Linked DNA regions of Homo sapiens: regions 2, 3, 4, 5, 6 and 7 are each linked to region 1. The links are contacts of gene promoters, found by promoter capture Hi-C in blood cells and fetal thymus (Javierre and others, 2016). All regions are on one chromosome and are shown on one strand. The core of a region is centred on a gene start or on the middle of the fragment in contact, and the rest is flanking DNA. Distances in the headings are between cores, read along the strand shown.

The links. The method cuts DNA at HindIII sites, captures the fragments that hold promoters and counts their contacts. A CHiCAGO score of 5 or more calls a contact.
Region 2: a contact is called between the fragment with the promoter of PCDHA5 here and the fragment with the promoter of PCDHB7 in region 1, in 9 of 17 cell types (neutrophils, M0 macrophages, monocytes and 6 more). The highest score is 13.8, in neutrophils.
Region 3: a fragment that was not itself captured here is called in contact with the fragment with the promoter of PCDHB7 in region 1 in 5 of 17 cell types (naive CD4 T cells, naive CD8 T cells, non-activated CD4 T cells and 2 more); the score reaches 6.3 in naive CD4 T cells.
Region 4: a fragment that was not itself captured here is called in contact with the fragment with the promoter of PCDHB7 in region 1 in 8 of 17 cell types (M1 macrophages, M2 macrophages, monocytes and 5 more); the score reaches 11.6 in M1 macrophages.
Region 5: a fragment that was not itself captured here is called in contact with the fragment with the promoter of PCDHB7 in region 1 in 6 of 17 cell types (M1 macrophages, M2 macrophages, M0 macrophages and 3 more); the score reaches 9.2 in M1 macrophages.
Region 6: a contact is called between the fragment with the promoter of PCDHA9 here and the fragment with the promoter of PCDHB7 in region 1, in 7 of 17 cell types (neutrophils, M0 macrophages, M2 macrophages and 4 more). The highest score is 11.6, in neutrophils.
Region 7: a contact is called between a fragment that was not itself captured here and the fragment with the promoter of PCDHB7 in region 1, in 7 of 17 cell types (naive CD4 T cells, naive CD8 T cells, naive B cells and 4 more). The highest score is 7.5, in naive CD4 T cells.

Annotation. Positions count from the first base shown.
Region 1 is chr5:141,171,010-141,174,207 of GRCh38, reverse strand. PCDHB7 (protocadherin beta 7) reads right to left here and starts at 1,564. Exons shown (of 1, transcript NM_018940.4): 1 at 1-1,564. The coding sequence starts at 1,372. It also overlaps PCDHB@. The HindIII fragment of the contact is 10,030 bases long and covers 1-3,198 here.
Region 2 is chr5:140,819,560-140,822,863 of GRCh38, reverse strand. It overlaps PCDHA5 (protocadherin alpha 5), which reads right to left and starts at 1,251. Exons shown (of 4, transcript NM_018908.3): 1 at 1-1,251. The coding sequence starts at 1,088. The region is part of intron 1 of PCDHA1 (protocadherin alpha 1); the gene reads right to left. All of the region lies in intron 1 of PCDHA2 (protocadherin alpha 2), which reads right to left. All of the region lies in intron 1 of PCDHA3 (protocadherin alpha 3), which reads right to left. It also overlaps PCDHA4 and PCDHA@. The HindIII fragment of the contact is 13,774 bases long and covers 1-3,304 here.
Region 3 is chr5:141,541,340-141,544,716 of GRCh38, reverse strand. All of the region lies in intron 18 of DIAPH1 (diaphanous related formin 1), which reads left to right. Among named protein-coding and RNA genes, the nearest start is that of DIAPH1-AS1, 15 kb to the left of the region's middle. The HindIII fragment of the contact is 6,929 bases long and covers 1-3,377 here.
Region 4 is chr5:140,779,339-140,782,490 of GRCh38, reverse strand. No RefSeq gene overlaps it. Among named protein-coding and RNA genes, the nearest start is that of PCDHA1, 5.2 kb to the left of the region's middle. The HindIII fragment of the contact is 6,118 bases long and covers 1-3,152 here.
Region 5 is chr5:140,753,080-140,756,271 of GRCh38, reverse strand. All of the region lies in intron 3 of LOC105378198 (a long non-coding RNA gene), which reads right to left. Among named protein-coding and RNA genes, the nearest start is that of PCDHA1, 31 kb to the left of the region's middle. The HindIII fragment of the contact is 5,694 bases long and covers 1-3,192 here.
Region 6 is chr5:140,846,760-140,849,924 of GRCh38, reverse strand. It overlaps PCDHA9 (protocadherin alpha 9), which reads right to left and starts at 1,543. Exons shown (of 4, transcript NM_031857.2): 1 at 1-1,543. The coding sequence starts at 1,429. The region is part of intron 1 of PCDHA1 (protocadherin alpha 1); the gene reads right to left. All of the region lies in intron 1 of PCDHA2 (protocadherin alpha 2), which reads right to left. All of the region lies in intron 1 of PCDHA3 (protocadherin alpha 3), which reads right to left. It also overlaps PCDHA4, PCDHA5, PCDHA6, PCDHA7, PCDHA8 and PCDHA@. The HindIII fragment of the contact is 21,410 bases long and covers 1-2,261 here.
Region 7 is chr5:141,520,725-141,524,354 of GRCh38, reverse strand. DIAPH1 (diaphanous related formin 1) reads left to right here. Exons shown (of 28, transcript NM_005219.5): 27 at 126-212. Among named protein-coding and RNA genes, the nearest start is that of PCDHGC5, 33 kb to the right of the region's middle. RefSeq lists an enhancer at 2,839-3,133. The HindIII fragment of the contact is 1,191 bases long and covers 947-2,137 here.

The sequences.
Region 1 (3,198 bases), core at 315-2,814:
GGGTGTAGGAGGTTTGGGTGAAGGCGGGAGCGTTGTCATTGACGTCGGAGACCAGCACGGTTATGTTGTGCTCGGTTTTCAGCCTGGGTGTCCCCAAGTCGGTGACGGTGATGGTGATGTTGTACTCAGTGTTCCTCTCTCGATCCAAAGGTTTCTCTGTTACCAGAGTATAGAAGTTTTCGACAGATGGCTTCAGGATGAAGGGGACATCGTCCTGGATGGAGCACACTGTCTTTCCATTGTTCCCGGAATCTCTGTCTCTAATCCTAAAAACAGCCACGACTGTCTCGGGTGAGTTTTCTGCAATTGGGCTAGTAAGTGAAGACAGGAGCAGCTCGGGTCGATTATCGTTTATATCTGTTACATCAACCACTACAGTGCATTTTCCAGAAAGCCCGCCGCCGTCTTTGGCCTGAATAGTTAATGTGTAAGTTTGAATTGCCTCATAGTCCAATTGCGCTTTAAGATGAAGACTGCCAGATGTTGGATTGATTTGAAACGTTTTGAGAATTCTTTCAGTGGCGTAAGAAAATGCATAGGCTATTTCCCCATTACTTCCGGTATCTAAATCTCTGGCTGACACGGAGACAACCATGGAACCAACGGGGCTATTTTCGGGCACCTGCACCTTGTAGAGCGACCGCACAAAATCAGGGGCGTTGTCATTTACGTCTAGAACCAGAATGCGCACGAGGGCGGTCCCTGATCTTGGAGGAGAGCCGCCGTCTAAAGCGGTGAGGGTTAAACTGAACTCTGGTATCTCTTCCCGATCCAGCACTTGATTCAGCACCAATTCGGGATAGATATTCCCCTCCCCGCTATCATGGACATTAATATGGAAATAGGCATTGGGGCTGATGGTGTAGTTACTCAGGCTGTTGGTTCCAACATCTGAATCCTGTGCACTCTCTAGGAGAAATGCCGCCCCTGGAGTGGTACTTTCTAATATTTTCAAGGAAATCTCTCTGTCTAGAAATACTGGAGCGTGATCATTGATGTCTCTGACCCATAGTTCAGCACGGAAAATCTGAAAAGGTTTTTCCAATAACAACTGGAAAGGCAGCACACAGGGCTCTCTGGGGCCACACAGTTCCTCTCGGTCCAATTTCTCATTTAGAAGTAGATCACCAGTAAGCGAACTGAGCAGTAAAATTTGCATGTTCTGGTCTGAAACAATTCTAGTTCCCCGGGCTCTCAGTTCCCCTACCCCTAACCCTAGGTCTTTTGCCAAGTTGGTAAGAAAGGTGCCTCTCTCGGTTTCCTCCGCCACAAAATACCGAAGCGGTTCGGCGCCAGCCCAAGACATTCCCAGAAATACACAAAGAAATAAGACTTGCCTTTTCTGCACAGCACGCTCCACTCTGGCCTCCATTCTTCTTTGGATCAGTCTTTCAAAATGACTTTCACTCAGCCTCCAGCGGCTCTCACAAATGGCAGCAGCGGAATCCTTTGAAATGAGCTGAATAATAGCAATGTTTGTGGGGAAGGATCCTCATTTTACCCCAATTCCTATTACCACTGTTTCCTTTCCTATGCTTTTCTCTTCAGATTGCCTCTTTGCTCTGGAATCTGTAACATCCTTTCTTTGTGAAATTATTTTTCTCTCTCTCTTTTTAGCCAGCAGCGCCACCTTGCGTTTTGTGGATGTTATTCCCGTTATCAAGACTAGAACAAAAAGATGGCGGATTGAAGGAATTCTGCAACAAGAATGATTTGTCCCCGGTATCTTTGCTGTTTCATTCCATCTTTATCCTCAAATGGTCACAGTAATGCTAGTAAGTAATAGCTGATGTCGTTTTCCCCTGTGATAATCTGGATTCGTAGAAGAATTAATTTATAGTCTTCTTAAATCTAGGAGCATGAAACTAAACTCTGACTCCCCACCGAAATCCTAAGAAAATCTCCTATTTTAAAAATGGATAGTAAAAATATATATGAGAAAATGAAACCTCCTCCTTGAAGTCAACAAATATTGGTTGGGGACATTTTATTTATTTGTAAAGTATTTAACAATAATAATGTGAATATGGCAGAATAATTGACCCTTTTCCCAATTTCTTGTGAATTAAACAATTATTCCACTTTCCAGGTCTTAACTCTTTACCTGTGATATTTCTTGGAACACTTTATGCCTCCCCCAAACCCAACCTTCATCCTTCACCTGATTTAAGTATTACATAAGAAATTATTGTTCCTCTATAATTTCAGTGACTAGAATCTCCAATGTCCAATGAATACTCTTAAAATTAGTAGTAGCAAGTTGGTCAATCTTGCATTTGTGGAAGTGCTTCTAGCATTTCATCTTCAACTATGATGGTTGATCTCAATTTGGGGTAAATATTCCTTTTTTGAATCAATAAAGTTTTCTTTTTATTCTTTCATATTTTGAAGTGATTTTTGATAGCTGTTGAAATAATACATTTATTCTTTAGTTTCTAAATTACTGAGTTATTGATATAAATGACATTTAACCATAATGTATTATTGTTTTAGTGCACAGATAGATATGATGTGTCAACATGGTTTTAGGATTTTTCTAGTTAATGTTGTTTACCTAGTGCGTGTTTGCCTTTTATGGCCTTGGTATTAAACTATTATACTGGCATCATAGAATGTGTTAGGGAGCTTTTTATCTATTTTATACAATAGTTTTAATAATTATATTATTATATGTTTCTACATGCTTAATTCCAGCTTGTCTTTTAAACTGGTTGGGTTTGGTGACTTCACTTGCAGTAGATCAGTGACTACCATTTACATTTTACCTTTGGTTATTAATCTGTTCAGGTTTTGTATTTTTAAGTAACTTGCATTTTATTTTGAAAATCATTTTATCTAGTTTGCAAATTTCTTGGAATTGTTTTCATTGCGTTATTTACCTTTAATTGTATCCCTATTTTTATTAGTGATGTTTAGCATTTTAACTCCTTTTTATTCTTGGTGAGACTTGCAAGAGCTCTACTTTACTGATATTTTGAAATGCATTTTTTTCAAAATAATATATGACCTTGGTCCAAAATTAAATAGCACTAAGAGGCTTGTTCTGCCCTTTTCCTCCTCACTTTTCTTAGTTCCCCTTCTAAGAGGTAGCCATTTTAAAACTCTTTTAGTTATCTCTTCAGTCACTAATCTGTTTTCTGATATATTTTGATTAATTAATTTTAGAAATTATCAATTGACTGTTTATTATGTTAGATT
Region 2 (3,304 bases), core at 2-2,501, 350 kb after region 1:
GGAGCGTCCTCTTTGACAGGCAGGAAAAGGGTGGTTATGGCCATCTCTGGGGTATTATCATTCACATCCAGGAGTTTCACTACTACTTTACAGTGTCCTGATAATGGGAATGTACTTTTATCCATGGCATCAATATTAATTTCATATGAGTTATAGTCTTCATAATCCAGTTCCCCGTTAACTTTTATTTCACCAGTATTAGAATTAATTATAAATTTGGACTTTACATCGTCAAGAACAAGATTACTAAAGAAATACACTATTTCCTTATTGATGCCCTCATCTGCATCTGAGGCGTTCAGTTTAATAACTAATGTCCCACTTGGTGCATTTTCCAACAATCTGACATTATAAATGGATTTATCAAATTCTGGGGCGTTATCATTAGCATCCAATACATTGATCAACAACTGAACTGTACCTGTTAGTTCGGGTTTTCCTCCATCAGTTGCAATCACTAATAAACGGTGTTCTTGTGTTTCTTCTCTATCTAAGGATTTCCTCAAAACCAGCTCTAAAAAGTTCGTTTCTTCTTCATTTGTTTTAACATCTAAGTCAAAATATTCGTTTGGATTTAACCTGTATCTCAATTGTGCATTTGCTCCAATATCCAAATCCGACGCGCCCTCTAGCGGAAACCGCGAATCTGGCATTCTTGACTCTAAAATGAATAATCTTTGTTCTTGTCTGGAGAACCTGGGCGGATTGTCATTGATGTCCTTCACTGCCACCTCCACATGGAAAACCTGCAGCGGCCTGTCCACGATCACCTCCAGGTGGATGCTGCACTCCGCCCTCCGCCGGCACAGCTCCTCCCGGTCGATCCGAGAATTCACAAACAAAATGCCATTCTGCAGATTTACCTCCAGAAGGTCCCCGCGGCCCTTGGACGCCACCCGGAACAGGCGCGGCACCAGCTCCGCCAGCTCCAGCCCTAGGTCCTGCGCGATGCGGCCAACGAAGGTTCCGTGTTTGGCTTCCTCCGGGATCGAGTAGTGGAGCTGGCCGCTCCCTGCCTTCCAGTAGGCAAGGAGAAGCCAGAGCAGCAGGAGCCGGGATCCCAGACTTCCTCTCCGGGAATATACCATCTCAATCTCGTTCCAATTATGAGCTTTCTATTGCATCACCACACAATGTATTTTGTAAATTCAATTCCCAATTAACTATATATTTTTTATATTATCGCCTTTCTGAGCTTCTTGGCACAGCCAAAAATGGAAGGTTCTTTTCCTTTCTGTCTAAGGAAAATCTACTCACTGTATTCCTTTGAGGCTGGGAAGGGAGAAAAACCTTCCGGTGTCCAGCGACATCATGTGGATGAAAGGGTAAGTGTTTTATTTTGTTTTGCTTTATTTAGCTTATATTCGTCAATATTTCTCAAGTATTCTCACTTTCAATGACATGATTCTTATTCTTTAAATCACTTATCTCTAGTCAAAATATATCATTAAACTCTATCTTAAAATGCGTCAATATAAGTGCGTCATTAAAATATTACAGAAAAATACATCTAAAGTCATGAAACCCCAATCCTTACTAGAGAAATTTGTGCTGGTGTATTTTATATAGGGAGGAGTTTATATATTTCCAAACTGATAAAAATAACTTTTAAGAGTTAAAGTTTTGACTTTTCTCATCTCTATTTAAACATATCTAATTAAAACTTTTGAGTTTTTTCTGTATTAGTCAATGGAATGTTTGTATGCTATCTCCGTGTTACTCATAAAACAAATTTTTATTCCAATTTCACTGTTTAATAGTGACATTTTGTTGATGTTATTTTCAAAAACAACTAAAACTATTTTAATGGCATTCTTACCTGAGTTTCTTCTCGGAGTTCTAATTTTCAAATCGATGAAAACCTATTTCTTTATCTATAACACCTATCTACTTTTTGTATTGACTCAAAAACTGTAATGGGGATATTTCAGCTTTCTAGAAATCAAAAGCATAATAGAACGACTTTGGTAAATCGTCTTTGCACTATTTTCAAATTAGAAGCATCTAGATAGCATTTCTTCAAGTTGCTATTACTGATAAAGCAATTATTAAAAATTGTAAAATACATACCTTTGTACTTACATAACAAGTCAAAATCCTAATATTGTCTATATGACATACTATTTCACAAAATGTTTAGGTTCCAGTAAATATAATCATGTTGAAAAGAATATCATTTTATTAACCAGGCTATCTTTATATTAGTTTAATTACTTTTTAATCTCCCAACTGTTTACTGGATGGTATGATTTGAACACGACCTAGAAAATTTAGTAAACTTCACTTAATAAATATGGGCAAAAGAAAATATCACCAAGTTTTCTATTGAAGAAATAGCTAACATTCTGCTTGTATATATACTCCATAAAATTCCTTAAATATTACAAAATATCCCTTACCTGTGAAGACAAGAGGGACCAAGAGATTAGCAATTCTATTGTTGGATACTTTTACATTTAAAATATAGCTTGATAAGAAAAAAGAAATTACCAGAAAATGCAAAGTCAGAGGAAATTCACTTGATTTCTGGAATTCAAACTTGTAAAGAAACAAGATATTGTCATAGAATTGTTTCTGATACAATCTTTAAAGATATATTTACCAGTTCCCTTATAAGATTTTTACTATCTCTATTATCATGACTTTTCACTAATATTTGGATCGTTGAAACACAAATCAATTTCCCAGACTATTTGCCTAATAGTTTTCATACTGATAATTTTGAAATATTTTAATACACAATGGTTAAAAACATAAGAAAATGATAATAAATATTTAGAAAACAGCATTAGCTGATGTTAGCCACTTTCTATTATATAACAGTAAATAATGTAAAACTACAAAGCTATGGAATAAATTATAGTAGAATTTTATACAAAATACACAAAGATAACCTTTGAAAAAAGTAAATATTAAGTATTTAAAAGGCAAATTAACAATGTAGTATTAACAATGTGTACATTGTAATCTGCAGAGTATTATGATAAATACTGAGTATTTTAAAAGATATACTCAATGGAGAAAAAGTCATCAACAATATCAGTTCACATGCTCCTCTCAGTCTGGAAAAAATATCTCATGTACTTATATAGATATTTCAGGAGGAAACAAGACTCTTGACTTTTGATTCACTTTCATATCTGTTAAATTATATTTACTTTTTAAATTATCACTTGCATTTGTGCTACAGTGATCAACTCTTATTTTGAATATTCCTTTCTCAGTAACTATAGATTATCCAATCTGAATTTCATGGGAGACTCCACAGGAAAAGAACATTTTAAAAAATCTTCTTCTAAGCTAT
Region 3 (3,377 bases), core at 135-2,634, 370 kb before region 1:
TTGTTTTTAGTGATTTTAAAAGGTTAGACTTTGTAGTTTTAATTCCTAATGAGTTTAATTCCTAGTACATAGTTTTCATGACTTACTGATGATATTGAGCAGCTTTCTCTGTGCTTAATTTGCCATCTGTATATCTTCTTTGGTAAAGTGACTTTCCAAATCTGTCCATTTTTTAAAATTGGGTTGTTTTCTTATGATCTAGTCATAACTTTTTAATCTGTGTTGGGTATACTAGTTCTTTATCGGATAAGTGTTTTGCAGATATTTTCTCCCAATCTTGTCTTCTCATTTCTTAATAATGGCTTCAAAAGAACAGAAGTTTTTAATTTTGATGAAGTCTGCTTCATCAATTTTTCTTTTTATGTTTTGTATTCTTTTCTTTCTTTATTTTTATTTTTATTTTTTTGAGATGGAGTCTCACTCTTGTCGCCCAGGCTGGAGTGCAGTGGTGCCATCTCAGCTCACTGCAAGCTCCACTTCCCAGTTTCACACCATTCTCCTGCCTCAGCCTCCCGAGTAGCTGGGACTACAGGTGCCCGCCACCACGCCCGGCTAATTTTTTGTATTTTTACTAGAGACAGGGTTTCACCGTGTTAGCCAGGATGGTCTCGATCTCCTGACCTTGTGATCTGTCTGCCTCAGCCTCCCAAAGTGCTGGGATTACAGGCGTGAGCCACCGCGCCCGGCCGATTTATACTTTTTTTTGTGTCTTACCTGAGAAATTATTACCACCTCAAAGCTGTGAAGATTTTCCCCTGTTCTCTTCTAGATGTTTGGTAGTTTTAGGTTTTCCATTTAGTTCTATGGTCCGTTGTATAGATGCATGCTTGTCTATATGCATGTATACATTTATCTATTGATTGTATTGACATATAATTCACATATGATAAAATTCATCTTTAAAGTATACAATCCCATTTTTTGTGTGTGTACAGATGCTCCTTGACTTACAATAGAATTATGTCCTGAAAGCCATTGTGAGTCGAAAATATTGTTAAGTTGGAATGCATTTAATAACACCTAACTTACCAAACATCTTTCTTAGCCTAGCCTACCTTAAACATGCTCGGGACACTTATATTAGCTTACAATTGGACAAAATAATGTAACGCAAAGCCAGTTTTATAATGTTGATAATGAATTTTGAATCAAAATTTGAAGTACAATTTCTACTGAATGCATATGGCTTTTGCACCATCATAAGCTAAAAAAAATTGTTAGGTTGAATTATCTTAAGTCAGGGATAGTCTGTATTCAGAAAGTTGTCCAGCCATTACCACTATCTAATTCCACAGCATTCTTATCACGCTTACAAGAAACCCTGAATCCACTAGCAGCCACTTCCTACTTCCCATTCCACCCAACTTGGCATCTGCTAATTTACTTACTATCATATGGATTTGCCTGTCATGGACATGTTGTGTCAATATAATTAATAAAGTATGTGCCCTTTGTGTCTGGCTTCTTTCACTAATCATGATGCTTGCAAGGTTCGTGTTGCAGCATGTATTAGCACTTCATTCCTTTTTATGACACCACATTTTGTTTTTTCCATTCATCAGTTGATGGACATTAGGATTGTTTCCACTTTTTGGCTATTATAAATAATGCTACTATGAACATTTTCTTTTTTTTTTTTTGTAACTAAACTGAGATGAAGTACCAACAGCATGACCTTTTACCCTTAAATTCTTCAGCATGCATCTTCTAAATACAAGTTCTATAATCACAGTGTAATTATCACATTTAGAAAATTTATCATTGATAGGATACTGTTATCTAATATACAATCCATATTCAAGTTTCACCAATTGAATTAGTTTTTAAACATGTAAGACAATAAACAATTTTATTGAGATGAAATTCACACAACATAAAATTAACCATTTTAGAGCAAGCAATTTAGTGGCATTTGGTATACTCATAATGTACAACCATCATATCTATCCAGTTCCAAAACATTTTCATCACTCCCAAAAGAAATCCTTTACACTTTAAGCAGTTGCTCCTCATTCCTCCATCCCTTTAGCTCCTAACAATCACCAGTCTATGTGTGTCTCTATAGATTTACCTCTTCTGAATATTTCATATAAGTGAAATAATATATGTGACTTTTGTGTCTGGCTTCTTTCACTTTAGCATGATGTTTTTGAGAATTCTCCACATTGTATCATGTTATCAGTAGCTCATTACTTTTTATGGCAGAATAATATTCCATTGCATATGCCACAGTTTGTTTATGCATTAATTGACAGACAGACAATTTCTTTTTTTTTTTTTTCCCAAGACAGAGTCCCACTCTGTTGCCCAGTCCAGAGTGTAGTGGCACGATCTTGGCTCACTGCAACCTCTGCCTCCTGGGTTCAAGTGATTCTCTTGCCTCAGCCTCCCGAGTAGCTGGGATTACAGGCATGCGCCACCATGCCCAGCTAATTTTTTGTATTTTTAGTAGAAATGGCATTTCACCATGTTGGCCAGGCTGGTCTCGAACTCCTGATCTCATGATCCGCCTGCCAAGGCCTCCCAAACTGCTGGGATTACAGGCATGAGCCACTGCGCCTGGTGGACAGTTAGACTATTTCTACGTTTTGTCTATTTTGAATAGAGCTGCTATGAATGTGCATGTACTTGTATCCATTTGAGTAGCTGTTTTTGGTTTTGGGGGATATATGCCTTAGGAGTGGATTTGCTAGGTCACATGGTGATTCCGTTTAATAGGATGAAAGGATATGTTGAATCTGTAGATCGATTTGGGGAAAATATACATCTTTCAATGTTGAATTTTATGTTCTATGAACATCATGTATCTTTCCATTTATATAGGTCTTTGATTTCTCTCATCAGTGTTTTGTGGTTTTTAGCATACAGTTGGGTCACGTAACTTTTGTTCACATAACTGAAATGTAACTGAAGTGTTTCTTTCTCTTTTCTATTTATTTATTTGCTTTTGTCTTATGGTACTTTATTTCTCTTTCTAGTTGTTCATTTCTTTTTCTTTCTTTCTTCTTTTTCTTTCTTTTTTTTTTTTTTTTGAGACAGAATCTTGCTCTGTTGCCCAGGCTGGAGTGCAGTGGCACAATCTTGGCTCACTAGAACCTCCGCCTCCCGGGTTCAAGCGATTCTTATGCCTCAGCCTCCCGAGTACCTGGGATTACAGGCACACACCACCACCAGCTAATTTTTGTGTTTTTAGTAGAGACAGGCTTTCACCATGTTGGCCAGGCTGATCTCGAACTCCTGACTTCAAGTGATCAACCTGCCTTGGCCTCCCAAAGTGCTGGGATTACAGGCATGAGCCACTGTGCACAGCCCTTAAGTATATATAAAGAAATATAATTTAGAGAGTAGTGAGAGCAAACATCTTTACCTTGTTCCTG
Region 4 (3,152 bases), core at 117-2,616, 390 kb after region 1:
AAAAAAATTAGCCAGCCGTGGTGGCAGGCACCTGTAGTCCCAGCTACTCGGGAGGCTGAGACAGAAGAATGTCATGAACCCGGGAGATGGAGCTTGCAGTGAGCCGAGATTGTGCCACTGCACTCCAGCCTGCTAGAGAGCGAGACTCCGCCTTAAAAAAAAAAAAAAAAAAAAAGAAGAAAGAAATTTCTTCCACTGGATATCCTAGGTAATCATACTTAAGTTCAACCCTCCATAAATCCCCAGGACATTGACACAATGCAGCCAAGTTCTTTGCTAAGGCATAACAAGAGTGACCTTTGCTCCAGTTCCCAATAAATTCCTAATTTCCATCTGAGAACTCATCAGCTTGGCCTTTGCTATCCATAGTTCTATCAGCATTTTTGTCACAACCACTTAACAAGTCTCTAAGAAGTTCCAAACTTTCCCTCATCTTCCTGTCTTTTCTGAGACCTCCAGATTCTTCCAATCTCAGCCCGTTACCCAGCTCCAAAGCTGCTTCCACATCTTCAGATATCTTTATAGGAACACCCCAGTCTTTGGTACCAATTTTCTGTATTAGTTCATTTTGTGTTGCTATGAAGTAATATCTGAGACTGGGTAATCTATAAAGAAAGGAGGTTTATTTGCCTCATGGTCCTGCATGCTGTACAGGAAGCAGGGTGTTGGCATCTGCTTCTGGTGAAGGCCTCAGGAAGCTGCCAATCATGGCTGAACACGAAGGGAAAACCAGCATATCACATGATTAGAGAGAGAGCAAGAGGAAAAGGAAGGAGATACCACACTCTTTTAAGCAACTAGATCTTGTGTGAACTCACAGAGTGGGAGCTCACTCACTACCCCAAGAATAGCACCAAGTCATTCATGAGGGATGCACTCTTATGACCCAAACACCTCCTGATAGCCTCAACTCCAACATTAGGCATCACAATTCAACATGAGATTTGAAGAGGACAAATATCCAAACCATATCAGGTGATGTCAGAGGAGGTTTTAGTGGAGAGCCAAGACCTTTCACCATGTGATAACAAGGGCATCTCTACCTTAGTGTCTATGGAGAACACATGGTGGGGCCAAAACTTCCACCCCACCTAGAAGTATAGAGGACATGTCCATGCATTTGTCAATGTAGGCCTATGGGAAACTTGGGCTTTATCTTCAAGTGACAGTAATGAGGTAGTGCCAATGCTCTCTCTGACAGAACAGTGTCAGGAGAAACTAGCTAAAATAGAATAAGTAAGCTCTAGAGTCTCAAAACATGATATAAAAATGTTCAAGTTTCAATATGAAGAAATTACTCATTATTCCAATAACCAAGAAGATAAATTAAATTTAAAAAATAACATACCAATGCCAACAATGAGATGAAAGAGCTGTTAGAATTCTGTGATAAAAATTTTAAAGCAGTCACCATGAAAATGCTTCAATGAGCAATTGCAAATATGCTTGAAACGAATAAAAAAATAGAAACCCTCAGCAATGAAACAGAAAGTCTCAGCAAATAAATAGATGATGAAAAGAACCAAATGAAAATTTTGGAAAAAAGTACAATAACCAAAATAAAAACCCAAATAGAAGAATGGAGTGGTCAAAAAAGAGAATAAGGAAACTAAAAGAAAAATAGAAAATACTGAATCTGGGCAGGGCACAGTGGCTCACACCTGTAATCACAGCACTTTGGGAGGTGAAGGTGGGAGGATTGCTTAAGCCCAGGAGTTTGAGGTTATGGTGCAGTATGATCATGCCACTGCACTCCAGCCAGGGCAACAGAGCATGACCCCATCTCTAAAAACATAACAAATAAGTAAATAAATAAAAATTACGCAATTTGAAAAACAGCAACAAAATAGACTAAAAGAATAAAAAAGAACAGTACCTTGGGGACATGTGGGAACTTAACAAAAGCTCCAACATTCATGTCAGTGGAGTACTGAAAGAAAAGGCAAAGGAGACAAGGCTAAAAATAACTCAAAAAATGGCTAAAAAGTTCCCAAATTTGATAAACAATATAGAGAGGTGAGTGAACTCCAAAGACTCCACACCAAGGCATATAACAGGCAAACTTTTGAAAATAAATGAAAAAGAAAAAATCTTAGGCTAGGTGTAGAGGCTTGTGCCTGTAATTCCAACATTTTGGAAGGCCAAAGTGGGAGGATTTCTTGAGCCCAGGGGTTCAAGACCAACCTAGGCAACATAGTAAGACCTTGTCTCTACAAAAAATAAACAAAATTAGCTGGACATGGTGGCATGCACCTGTACTCTCAGTTACTTAGGAGGGTGAGGTGGGAGGATCACTTGAGCCTGAGAGATCAAGGCTGCAGTGAGCCAACACCATATCACTGCACTCTAGCCTGAGTGACAGAGCAAAACCCTGTCTCAAAAAAAAAAAAGAAAGAAAGAAAAGAAAAGAAAAAGAAAGAGAAAAAAAAACTGACTAAGTGAATCAAAAAAAGACCCAATTACATGCTGCCTATGAGTATCTCACTTGAAATATAAAAATACAGGGAGATTAAAATTAAAAATGTAAAAGCTATATCAACAAGCAAAATGTCTTGAGCATCCCCAAAACCTGTTGCCATGACCTTTGCTTTTTGTGTGTGTTGGGACCTTTGCTTTTGACCAGCCTGCTTTTACTTTGACTAGGCCATTTGCACCTCTTGGTAGCATTGCTTTGATTGTGCTTTGTCTTCAAGATCATACTGCTAAAGCCATGTGTCATCTCCTGTTACAGTTCTCCAAAGAAAGTATTCAGAATCTTGATCCCATTGTTTAAAATTTCCATGGAAACTCAGTTCTCATCTGCAGCTGATCTAGGTGCAATGGTTTTGGACCCATTGAGGAGAAATTTGCTCAACTTTAATTTTTTAGTCAGAAGTGATCAAAGGAAAGCAGAAGCATCTATCAAATAGAGTTCAAGACAAAGATAACTACCGGTATATAGAGGAAAATCAGGCCAGGAGCGGTGGCTCATGCATGTAATCCCAGCAACTTGGGAGGCCAAGGCGGGTGGATCATTTGTGGTCAGGAGTTCAAGACCAGCCCGGCCAACGTGATGAAATCCCCTCTCTACTAAAAATACAAAAATGAGCCTGGCGGTAGTGGTGCGCGCTTGTAATCCTAGCTACTTGGGAGGCTGAGGCAGGAAAATCACT
Region 5 (3,192 bases), core at 218-2,717, 420 kb after region 1:
TTAATCTGTTCTACTCTTTCATTATGCCAAAGCACATTTTATCTTCACCTTAATGAATATAATTTCATGCCACTGCACTTCAGCCTGGGCGACAGAGCAAGACTCTGTCTCAAAAAAAAAAAAAAAAAAGAATTTCCATGCAAATGGAGACTGTAAGAGAGCAAGAATAGCTGTACTTACATCAGATAAAATAAACTTTAAGTCAAAAACTCTAAAAAGAGACAATGAAAGTCATTATATAATAATAAAAGTTCAATTCAGCAAGAGGATATAACAATTGTAAATACAAAAGCATCCAATATTGGAACACCTAAATATATAAAGCGAATATTAATAGATCTAAAGGGAGAACAAGACTGCAATACAATGATATTAGGGGGATTTGCTATCCATTTTCAGCAATGGACAGGTCATCCAGACAGAAAATCAACAAAGAAACTTCAGATTTAAACTGCACTGTAGACCAAATGGACCTAGCAGACATTTACAGAACATTCCATCCAACAGCTGCAGAATACACATTCTTCTCAACTGTACATAAAATATTTAACAGAATAGATAATATGTTAGGCCACAAAACAAGCCTTGACAAATTTTAGATTGAAATCATATCAATTGTCTCTTCTGACCACAATGATATAAAACTAAAAATCAATAACAGAAGGAACTTCAGAAACTTTATACATTCATAGAGAGTAAATATGCTCCTGAAAAACCAATGAGTCAATGAAGAAATTAAAAGACATTTAAATATCCCTTTTGGACAAATAGAAATGGAAACACAATGCACCAAAACTTATGGGATACAGCAAAAGCAGTTCTCAGAGAAAAGTTTATAGCTATAAACACCTACATTCAAAAAGAAGAAAGGTTTCAAATAAAGAATCCAACATTATACCTCAAGGAACTGGAAATACAAGAACAAACTAAATCTAAAATTAGGAGAAGGAAGTAATAAAGGTCATAATTTAGGTGAGATGAGGTGGCTCACGCCTGTAATCCCAGCACTTTGGGAGGCTGAGGTATATGGATGACTTGAGCACAGGAGTTCAAGACCAGCCTGGGCAACATGGTGAAACACCATCTCTTCCAAAAATGAAAAAAAAAAATAGCCAGGCGTGGTGGCAGGTGCCTGTGGTTTCAGCTGCTCAAGAGGCTGAGGTGGGAGGAACTCTTGAGCCTGGGTAGTAGACGTTGCAGTGAGCCAACATCACACCACTGCATTCCAGCCTGGGTGACAGAGTGAGGCCTCGTCTAAAAAATATCAGCATATAAATAAATGAAATAGAGGCTTGAAAAAAATACAAAAGAGCAACAAAATTAAGAGTTGGTGTTTTGAGAAAAAATAAAACCAGCCAACAGTTAGCTAAACTACCTAAGGAAAATAGAGAGAAGACAAACAAAACAATAATGAAAAAGGAGACATTATAACTGATACCACAGAAATAAAAAGGATCATAAGACATTATTATACAATTTTACACCAACAAATGGAATAACCTAGAAGAAACAGATAAATTCCTGGACACATACAACCTACTAAGATTGAATTATGAAGTTATAAAAAAATTTCAAGAGACCAATAATGAGTAAGGACATCGAATCAGTAATAAAAAGTCTCCCATCAAAGAAAAGCCCAATACCTGGTAGTTTCACTACTGAATTCTACCAACATTTAAAGAAGAATAAAAACCGGGCGCGGCGGCTCATGCCTGTAATCCCAGCACTTTGGGAGTCCAAGGCGGGTGGATCACGAGGTCAGGAAATCGAGACCATCCTGGCTAACACGGTGAGATCCCGTCTCTACTAAAAATACAAAAAATTAGCCGGGCGTGATGGCGGGCGCCTGTAGTCCCCGCTACTCGGGAGGCTGAGGCAGGAGAACGGCGTGAACCTGGGAGGCTGAGCTTGCAGTGAGCCGAGATCGCACCACTGCACTCCAGCCTGGGAGATAGTGCAAGACTCTGTCCCAAAAAAAAAAAAAAAAAAAAAGAAGAAGAATACCAATTATTCTCAAAATATTTCAAAATACTAAAGAGGAGAGAATACATTCAAACTCATTCTGCGAGGCCAGCATTACTCCGATATCAAACCTGAAAAAAAGCCCCCAATTACTCCAGGGGAAGGAGCAAGTTGAACTGGAAAGGAGCAACCTGCCCTCACCACATGCCTCTGGAATCTGGGCAGGAGGAGACCCCTCAACCACCATGGACACTTGAGTTGGCAGGGAGAGCTGCTTAGAGAAGTGGTAGGGGAAGCACTCCAGCTGGTGCAGAGCCCAGAGGGTTTGTTGTGGTAATGTCTGTAGTGAAGCATAATCAGGGATGCCCATCCCCCTAGGCTTGATTTGCTCCCATAAGAGACTTTAGCCCTAGGGGAACTGTTGGACATGAGCTCTCAGGGCAGTCTTGCCCACCAAATGAGGCCAGTCTGACGTGAGCACCCCTTTGCCTGCTGACCTCTCGCAGGGCCCCAGCCTGGCTGCACCTGCTTGCAATGCAGCCTCGAGTGCCCTCGGGGGGCTGCATCATAGCTCCTGCGCTGGCAGACTGCACCAGCCCACCCACTCCCTCCCCTCACTCCAGGCCCACAACCACCCCTATATTGCTGGAGTATATGTGCATGGGTGGATTTTACCTTCCCTGTCCTACCAGCATGTGTGTGCCCATGAACCCTCTGCTGCCACTGCTGCTGGGGTAAGTGCAGTCCACTCCACCACCTCCCCCATCATACTTCCACTGTAGTCAGAGTGCAGCCCAGCCACCACCAGCACCCTGCCCCAGCACCAACATTGTCACCAGAGTGAAACTAGGCAGAGAAGAGTGGACCCTCCACTGCCCTAAGTGACCACCTCCACCTACATGAAAACACACAGAAGGTGCACACAGTCCTGCACCTGCCAGCACCTTGCCCCCATGCTAACACCACCACCAGCAAACCACACACGCAGTCAGTCACCAGCAGGGACCCCAACCCCTGAGCCATGCTGTCTCTGCCACTGTTATGAATGCCCGAACACCCATGAGCACCAGGCTACAGCCAATAAGCATGTACCCTGCCATGCTGCTTCTGGCACATGCAAATGAGGATGGACCCCGCTGCCACTGCCTTATGAAATGCTTTGACTGTCACCACCTGTAGGAATGCTGAAACCAAAGATGCAGGAGCACCTCAGTCTACCCAGTGCAGTGA
Region 6 (3,165 bases), core at 294-2,793, 320 kb after region 1:
CCGTGAAGATGTGGCAGCCCGGCGGGTTGTTCTCCTTCACGAACACCGTGTACTCGGACTGCGCGAACGCTGGTGCGTTGTCGTTCACGTCGGCCACCTCCACAGACACCCTGGCCGTGGCCCACAGTGAAGGCGAGCCCCCGTCCCGCGCGGTAACCACCAGCTCGTAGGCGGACACACTCTCGCGGTCCAGAGCTCTGTCCAGCACCAACGAGTAGTAATTCTTGTAGGTGGACACCAGCTTGAAGGGGACGTGGGGCGTCAGGGAGCAGGTAACCTGCCCGTTGGCATCTGCGTCTAGGTCGATCACACTAATCAGGGCAATAACTGTCCCCAGTTGTGCGTCCTCTTTTACAGGAACCGAGAGCGTTTTGATAGTCAACTGTGGAGCATTGTCATTTACATCCACAACTTCCACAAGAAGTGTACAATGACCAGCCAGGGGTGGGAAGCCTTTATCGACAGCCTCGACTGGGATCTTGTGTGCTCTACTTTCTTCAAAATCCATATGTCCTATCACTGTGATTGCCCCACTTAAGGGGTCCATGTGGAACTTGGATTTTATATCTGGAGAAACATCACTGGAGAAGGAGTAAATAATATCCCCATTCAAGCCTTCGTCTAAATCTGAGGCATTGGGGTGAATCACCAGCGTTCCGATAGAAACGTTTTCTGGTAATTTCACCGTATACAGGGTTCTGTCGAACACTGGGGCATTGTCATTGTTGTCCAGTACCGTGATGAGTAATTGAACGGTGCCAGTCAGCTCGGGTTTGCCTCCATCGGTGGCCGTGAGCAATAAATGAAGCTCCGGAGTTTCTTCTCTGTCTAAAAGTTTCCGTAATACAAGTCCAAGAGGTTTTACCTGCTGGTTGCTGGTTGGCACGTCCAGGAAGAAATACTCATTGGGGCTCAGTCTGTAAGTGAGCAGGGCGTTCTCCCCGATATCTGCATCGGACGCGCCCTCTAGTGGAAACCGAGAGTCAAGCGGCCTGGATTCCGCGATGAACAGATTCTTTTGTGTCGCTGGGAACACTGGAGGGTTGTCGTTAATGTCCTTCACCTCCACGTCCACATGGAAAACCTGCAGCGGCCTGTCTACGATCACCTCCAGGTGGATGCTGCACTCCGCGCTCCGCCCGCACAGCTCCTCGCGGTCGATCCGAGAATTCACAAACAAAATGCCATTCTGCAGATTTACCTCCAGAAGGTCCCCGCGGCCTTTGGAATCCAACTGGAACAGGCGCGGCACCAGCTCCGCCAGCTCCAGCCCCAGGTCCTGCGCGATGCGGCCCACGAAGGTGCCGTGTTCGGCTTCCTCCGGGACGGAGTAGTGGAGCTGGCCGCTCCCCACCACCCACATTGCGAGGATCAGAAGCGAGAGCAGTAGAGGCTGACCCTCTGGATCTCCTCGACTTGAGTATAACATTTCAAATACTCAGTCTTCTTCTAATTAGTGAAAATTGCCTCCAAATTAGAAGAAATCATCTGATTTCGTCAGTCCCATTCTGCTGTGTTCGCCATCGTTCAGCACAGAGAGAGTGAAAAAGAATTGAGCCTCTTTCCCATGGGAAAAGGGCTGTATTTGTCTGGATTCAGAGAGAACATCGCGGCAAAGAGTGACATCACGTGGCCCAAAGTGTAAGTACATATTTCATGAATAAAAATTTCACAGTTATTCTGCAAAACTTATTTCATTTTCTTAATTTTTTCTTAAGTAATGATTGTTGAAACAGAAGATCCCGTTTCTCTTGCTGGAGCCTTCTTAGCAGACTGACTGCCTCTAAAAGTTTTGTATGACCTTGATTGTGGTTTTCTTATCCCTGAGAAAACTCTCCACTTAAGTTTTAAATAACGACAGAAATGAAGTAACAATTAAAATGATTCCATTGAGCAATCACGAATTTTAAATTACAAAATTCTTTTGTTCTGGAATTCAGAATCTCCCATATGGCTCGAAATAGGATTCTAGTGTAAGAGAAATCCAGGAGTTGCAATCTCTAGTGAATATAGGAGCCCAGAAATCTACTGATGAAAAAGAAACTTAGTCATGTCTGGTAAAAGGAATCAACAAAAAGTAGCAACCAACTGAGGTAGTTTTCTTGAGTAATTCTATGAATTGAAAAGGTATAAAATATTGCAAGAAAAGCGAGAATTGACTTTAAGGTCTTGTGTTGCGTGGGGAGAAAATATATTTTTCTCTTTTGTAGCATTTATACAATCTGTTTCCAGAAATGTGTTGTTTTGATTCTTTCCAAGCTTTATAATCTATGAATAATCTCTTCTTTGTAGTCTCCAATATAGTTTGTGTAATGTTATTACAATATGTTTTAATTTCATTATTGCTCATCCTTAGTACTCGGGGCAATTTCTGTTTTTAAAGCTATGCTTGAGATTCTTTTCCTGACTAAGTTCTACAAAGTTTTGTTGTGAGTTTTACTATCTTATTCCAACGTCCAAGTCGATTAATTAAATCTAGATTTTAGTGTATCTCAAGTCTAAAGGCAAAACCGTGAGTGTTTATTGTGCCATTAATGTTTTTGCATATTTATCTTTTATTTCGTATTTCTACTGATAACAGCCTAAGAGGTGCATTTAACAATTGCTTCTGTCCTTGATTACTGCAGGAGCTTCTGAGTTTGTCTTCCCGTTCAACCTTCTTTCAAAAGTCGTGATTTATTTTGCTCAAGGTAGTTAAATAGCTCCCAATTAATTCTAAAGAGTGGCCAAATTCCTTAATCACTCATGGCCCTTTAGTTTATTACTCAGAAATCAAGAGATCTTCTTACATTGGTTTTCCTGCTTTCATTCTCTGCAGACTGTGTGTTTTAACCAAAGTGGACTTTTCTACTTGTCATATTGATGCTTTCTGTGTCTTCAACTTTCCTTATGTTTTCTCTTTCCAAGAAATGTCTATCATTCTCAATATTCTCCCGGGGGGAACTTACTTATTTTAAAACCACTGAAACACACCATGCCCCTTCAAGTATTTCTTCAAAAATTCAAATAGGAAATGATTGTCTTTCAACTTCAACGTCATTCTGATTTACCTCTTGTACCTGTTACATTATCTTGCCTTGCATTGTGTGACTCATATTCTTTATTTGACCTCAAATTTTAAAGCCAGGGGCTGGGGCTCAGTAATAATTCCTGACATGATGATAT
Region 7 (3,630 bases), core at 293-2,792, 350 kb before region 1:
CTTAGCTGCCAGCTGCTGTGGGAGAGGGGAAATCAAGCAATAGCCATTCATTTTGTGTGGGGCTTGATATTTGCCATGCTGCTCTGGCTGAAGAGTTCACATCTCCATCTTGTTCTTTATAACAGAGGGCGATGAGACAGGTGTGATGGACAGTCTTCTAGAAGCCCTGCAGTCAGGGGCAGCATTCCGACGGAAGAGAGGGCCCCGTCAAGGTAAGTAAGCACATGGAGCTCATCCTGGGTGTCGAAGGGGGTGAGGGCTCTCTACTCCTGCCAGTCTGCGGCTAAAGAGCAAATAATGATGCTCTAAGCATCTTTTTAGTCCCTGCATCCAGAACGGATTATCTAGTCCTCTTCTTCCCATGTTACAGAGTAGCGACTTAGAAAACTGGGGTTTAAGGGACTGGCAATAAATCAGTTACATTGGATTATGCCGCATTTCTCCCCACTCTTGAAGCAGATATTTGGAACAAAGGAACTGAGCTGCAGGACCCAGGGATTTGAGTTGGCATTTGTGTGTATGAACAAAAGTTGATCTAAATACAAAATGTATATTAGATATAGATTGAAATTCAAAGAAAAAATAAGTCAGAGTCCTTACTCTGGACTTCACAAGCAGAAGACATACGTAGAGAGAACTAATAATAGAAAGTATAAAATTTTGTAGACAGGTTTAGGCATCATTATTCCCAGATAGAAAAATATAGAGGAGCATCTCAGTTGAAGGATTATGCCGTGTCTGAAAACTACCTTTTCCTTGAGTGCAGTTAGCCTCTATTGCCCTTGCCTTCCCCATCACTGCCCTGCAATCTCCTTTCATGTCCTTTGGAAGATCTAAGTGGATTACATTGAGCTAGAGATTCTAAAAAGAATTATGGAGCTAGGACAAGTGATCCAGGCATTAGTATGGGAAAAGATTAATGAATAAGTTCCCTTTCAGGGAAGCTTACAGTGGCCAAGAGACTAATTCAAAGGAAGGTATAGGCAAGTCTGCCCCTCATGTGGAGTTGACCTGCACTATCGTGTCTAGTGAAGGTCTTTTGAGGCTAGGAGTGGTGGCTTCTTTACTAATTTGAAGAGTGGGAATTACAAAAAAAGGCATCATTAGAGGTTTCTACTTCAGAGGGACTTAAATCTATGTTCCCTGTTTCCTGGCTGTTGCATTGTGTAGGCCCATTTGATAGTTATACTTTGAGATTATTGTAAACAGAAGGAGTTAACACAGCTTGCTTTGGCCAGTGCTTAGCTATTAATACAGTGGTATCTGTAGGGCCTGTAGTACCTGCCACAGCCTGGAAAGGGGGACCTTAGAGCATGCTAGCCTATGTAAACTCAGTATTCTGGCCCAACAACAGCCATCACTGTGAGTTTCATCTGTAATGGCTGGCTGCCCATTTCTACCTATACTCTGAATAACCAGAGTGATACTCCCTTCTGAGGGTTCTCTTGTATGACTTCAGAATGTTCCCCAAACTGAAAGCTCCCGAGTCAAAGTTCTTACCCATTTTCTGGCATTCTCTGAGTACAGGCTTTCTAAAGCGTGGGGAGAAGTGGATATGAAGAGCTGAGTACTCTCTGGGCTCGAGCATTTAGTCTTATAGATAGGTGTTTGCAAGGAGAGTACAGCTAGAGGTACTATTACTCCTGTATTTTGTCTTTATAGGTTCTTACAACATTATTTCCTACTGACCACACAAGGTGATGTGGCCTTAACATTAAGCATTTCTAGCCTTACAAAAATACATTGCATCTTATTGTTTTTTTTTTTTTTTTTTTTGACCCCGTCGGCTAAGTGCCTGCATCAGAATTTTGGTGGGGAATTCCCTTTTAAGCCTCTTCCTGTGGAACTATACTAGAATCCCAGATGCTTCCTGTCCACAGGTAGCCAGACATCAGTGGCTTCCCTCTGCTGGGGAAGCCCCATTCTTCACTTCTTTCCAAGTAGAAAATCAGAACTCACAGGTGGAGGAAGGAGGAATTTTGTTGGAAACTAACCTTCCAGCAGAGGACCTGAATTAGTCAAAGTACTCTCTCCCATGCAAGAGGGAATAGGAGGAGACTTATACTAGGAGATACTAAATTGGAAAGTAGGTGAAATGACAATTACATATATTTTAAGTGGCTCTAGCCTATAAGCTTATCTTTCTAGGCTCTGGGTCCACTAAATACACTTGAATATATCTGGGAGAATCTCAAGGGAGACATTTGTAGTTATTCTGGTAACTCTTTAGACCCTGGTGCATTCACATCATGTAAAGTGATGTGATGCGGTCTCACATTAAACAGGAGGATAGCCATCAGAGTAGATTACAAAGAACACAGGGCTAGGTAGGGATCAAAAGACCTAAAGTCACATCTAGTTCTGATGCTGTCTGTGTTATCCTAAGCAAGTCACTTAATGTTTCTGGGACTCAGTTCCTCAGGTATAAAATGAGAGTTGGACTAGAATGAATGGTCTGCAGGGTCCCTTCCAGCTCTAATATTTTTTTTGTGCAGTGACAACAGGATTAAGAGGAGAGAGAGGCTGGACTTAGATGGCCCCATTCTCAAAATACAAAGGCTCCACTGGCTATAGGTTTCTCTATGCAGCTACTGAATTTGGCTGTTCCACCCCTTGCCTGGCTGTCTCTGACTATTCCTCTTGGCTGATTGCTTTGAGCTAAAAAAACAGAGGCACTGTGGAACATATCTGCCTCATAGCCCTCCTTTTTTCCAGAGAGGCAGCTGTCCCTATTCAAAGACACTAGCTTTTTCCCTAGAATTTAAAGGAATGTTAAATTCTTCCGGTCTCTGGAGACCTGGGGGAGTGACCAGTATACAAAGACTCATTGAGGAGTTGGAAGAGGAGAGTTACTATCAGGCTTGGTTCATTAAAAGCAACATGTAAACTCCTGTGATCCGCAGGGTGTGGGAGAACAATGGTTGGAGTGTCAAGGGGAAGAATCCATGTGATTGTATTACAGCTGCTATTTCAGGCCCATGATTGAGTCAGCTTGTGGTTTTAATGACTCAACTTTATCTCCATGTCTGAATTGTGGCCTCTTGTATACAAGTCATTTGCTCACTGGGATAAAAGCCAAGGGAAGAAAGAAATTCAACTCTTCCTTTCCTTCCCTCTACCATTTCCCAGCTTCCCTATAAGCTCCATCCATCTAACAGAACCATAGAGTTGGAAAGACTCTAAAGACTTCCAGTGATTAGTATCTAACCTTCTCATAGGGAAAGGGATTAAAACCAGATAAGGTGACTAACACGGTGAAACTCTGTCTCTACCAAAAATACAAAAAATTAGCCGGGCGTGGTGGCAGGCACCTGTAGTCCCAGCTACTCAGGAGGCTGAGGCAGGAGAATGGCATGAACCCAGGAGGCGGAGCTTGCAGTGAGCCGAGATTGCGCCACTGCACTTCAGCCTGGGTGACAGAATGAGACTCCATCTCAAAAAAATAAAAATAAAAAACAGATAAAGTCTTGCCCAGGTCTACATGGCTAATGACAGAGCACTGTAGCCCACTTTTGTGACTCCAAGTCCAGGCCTGTTTCCCCTCAGCCTGCGTGATTGAACAGGAGACAGCAGTGAACCCACAGTATGGGCCGGAAATATTCTTTCATACCTTCCAGCAAGGAGAGTCGG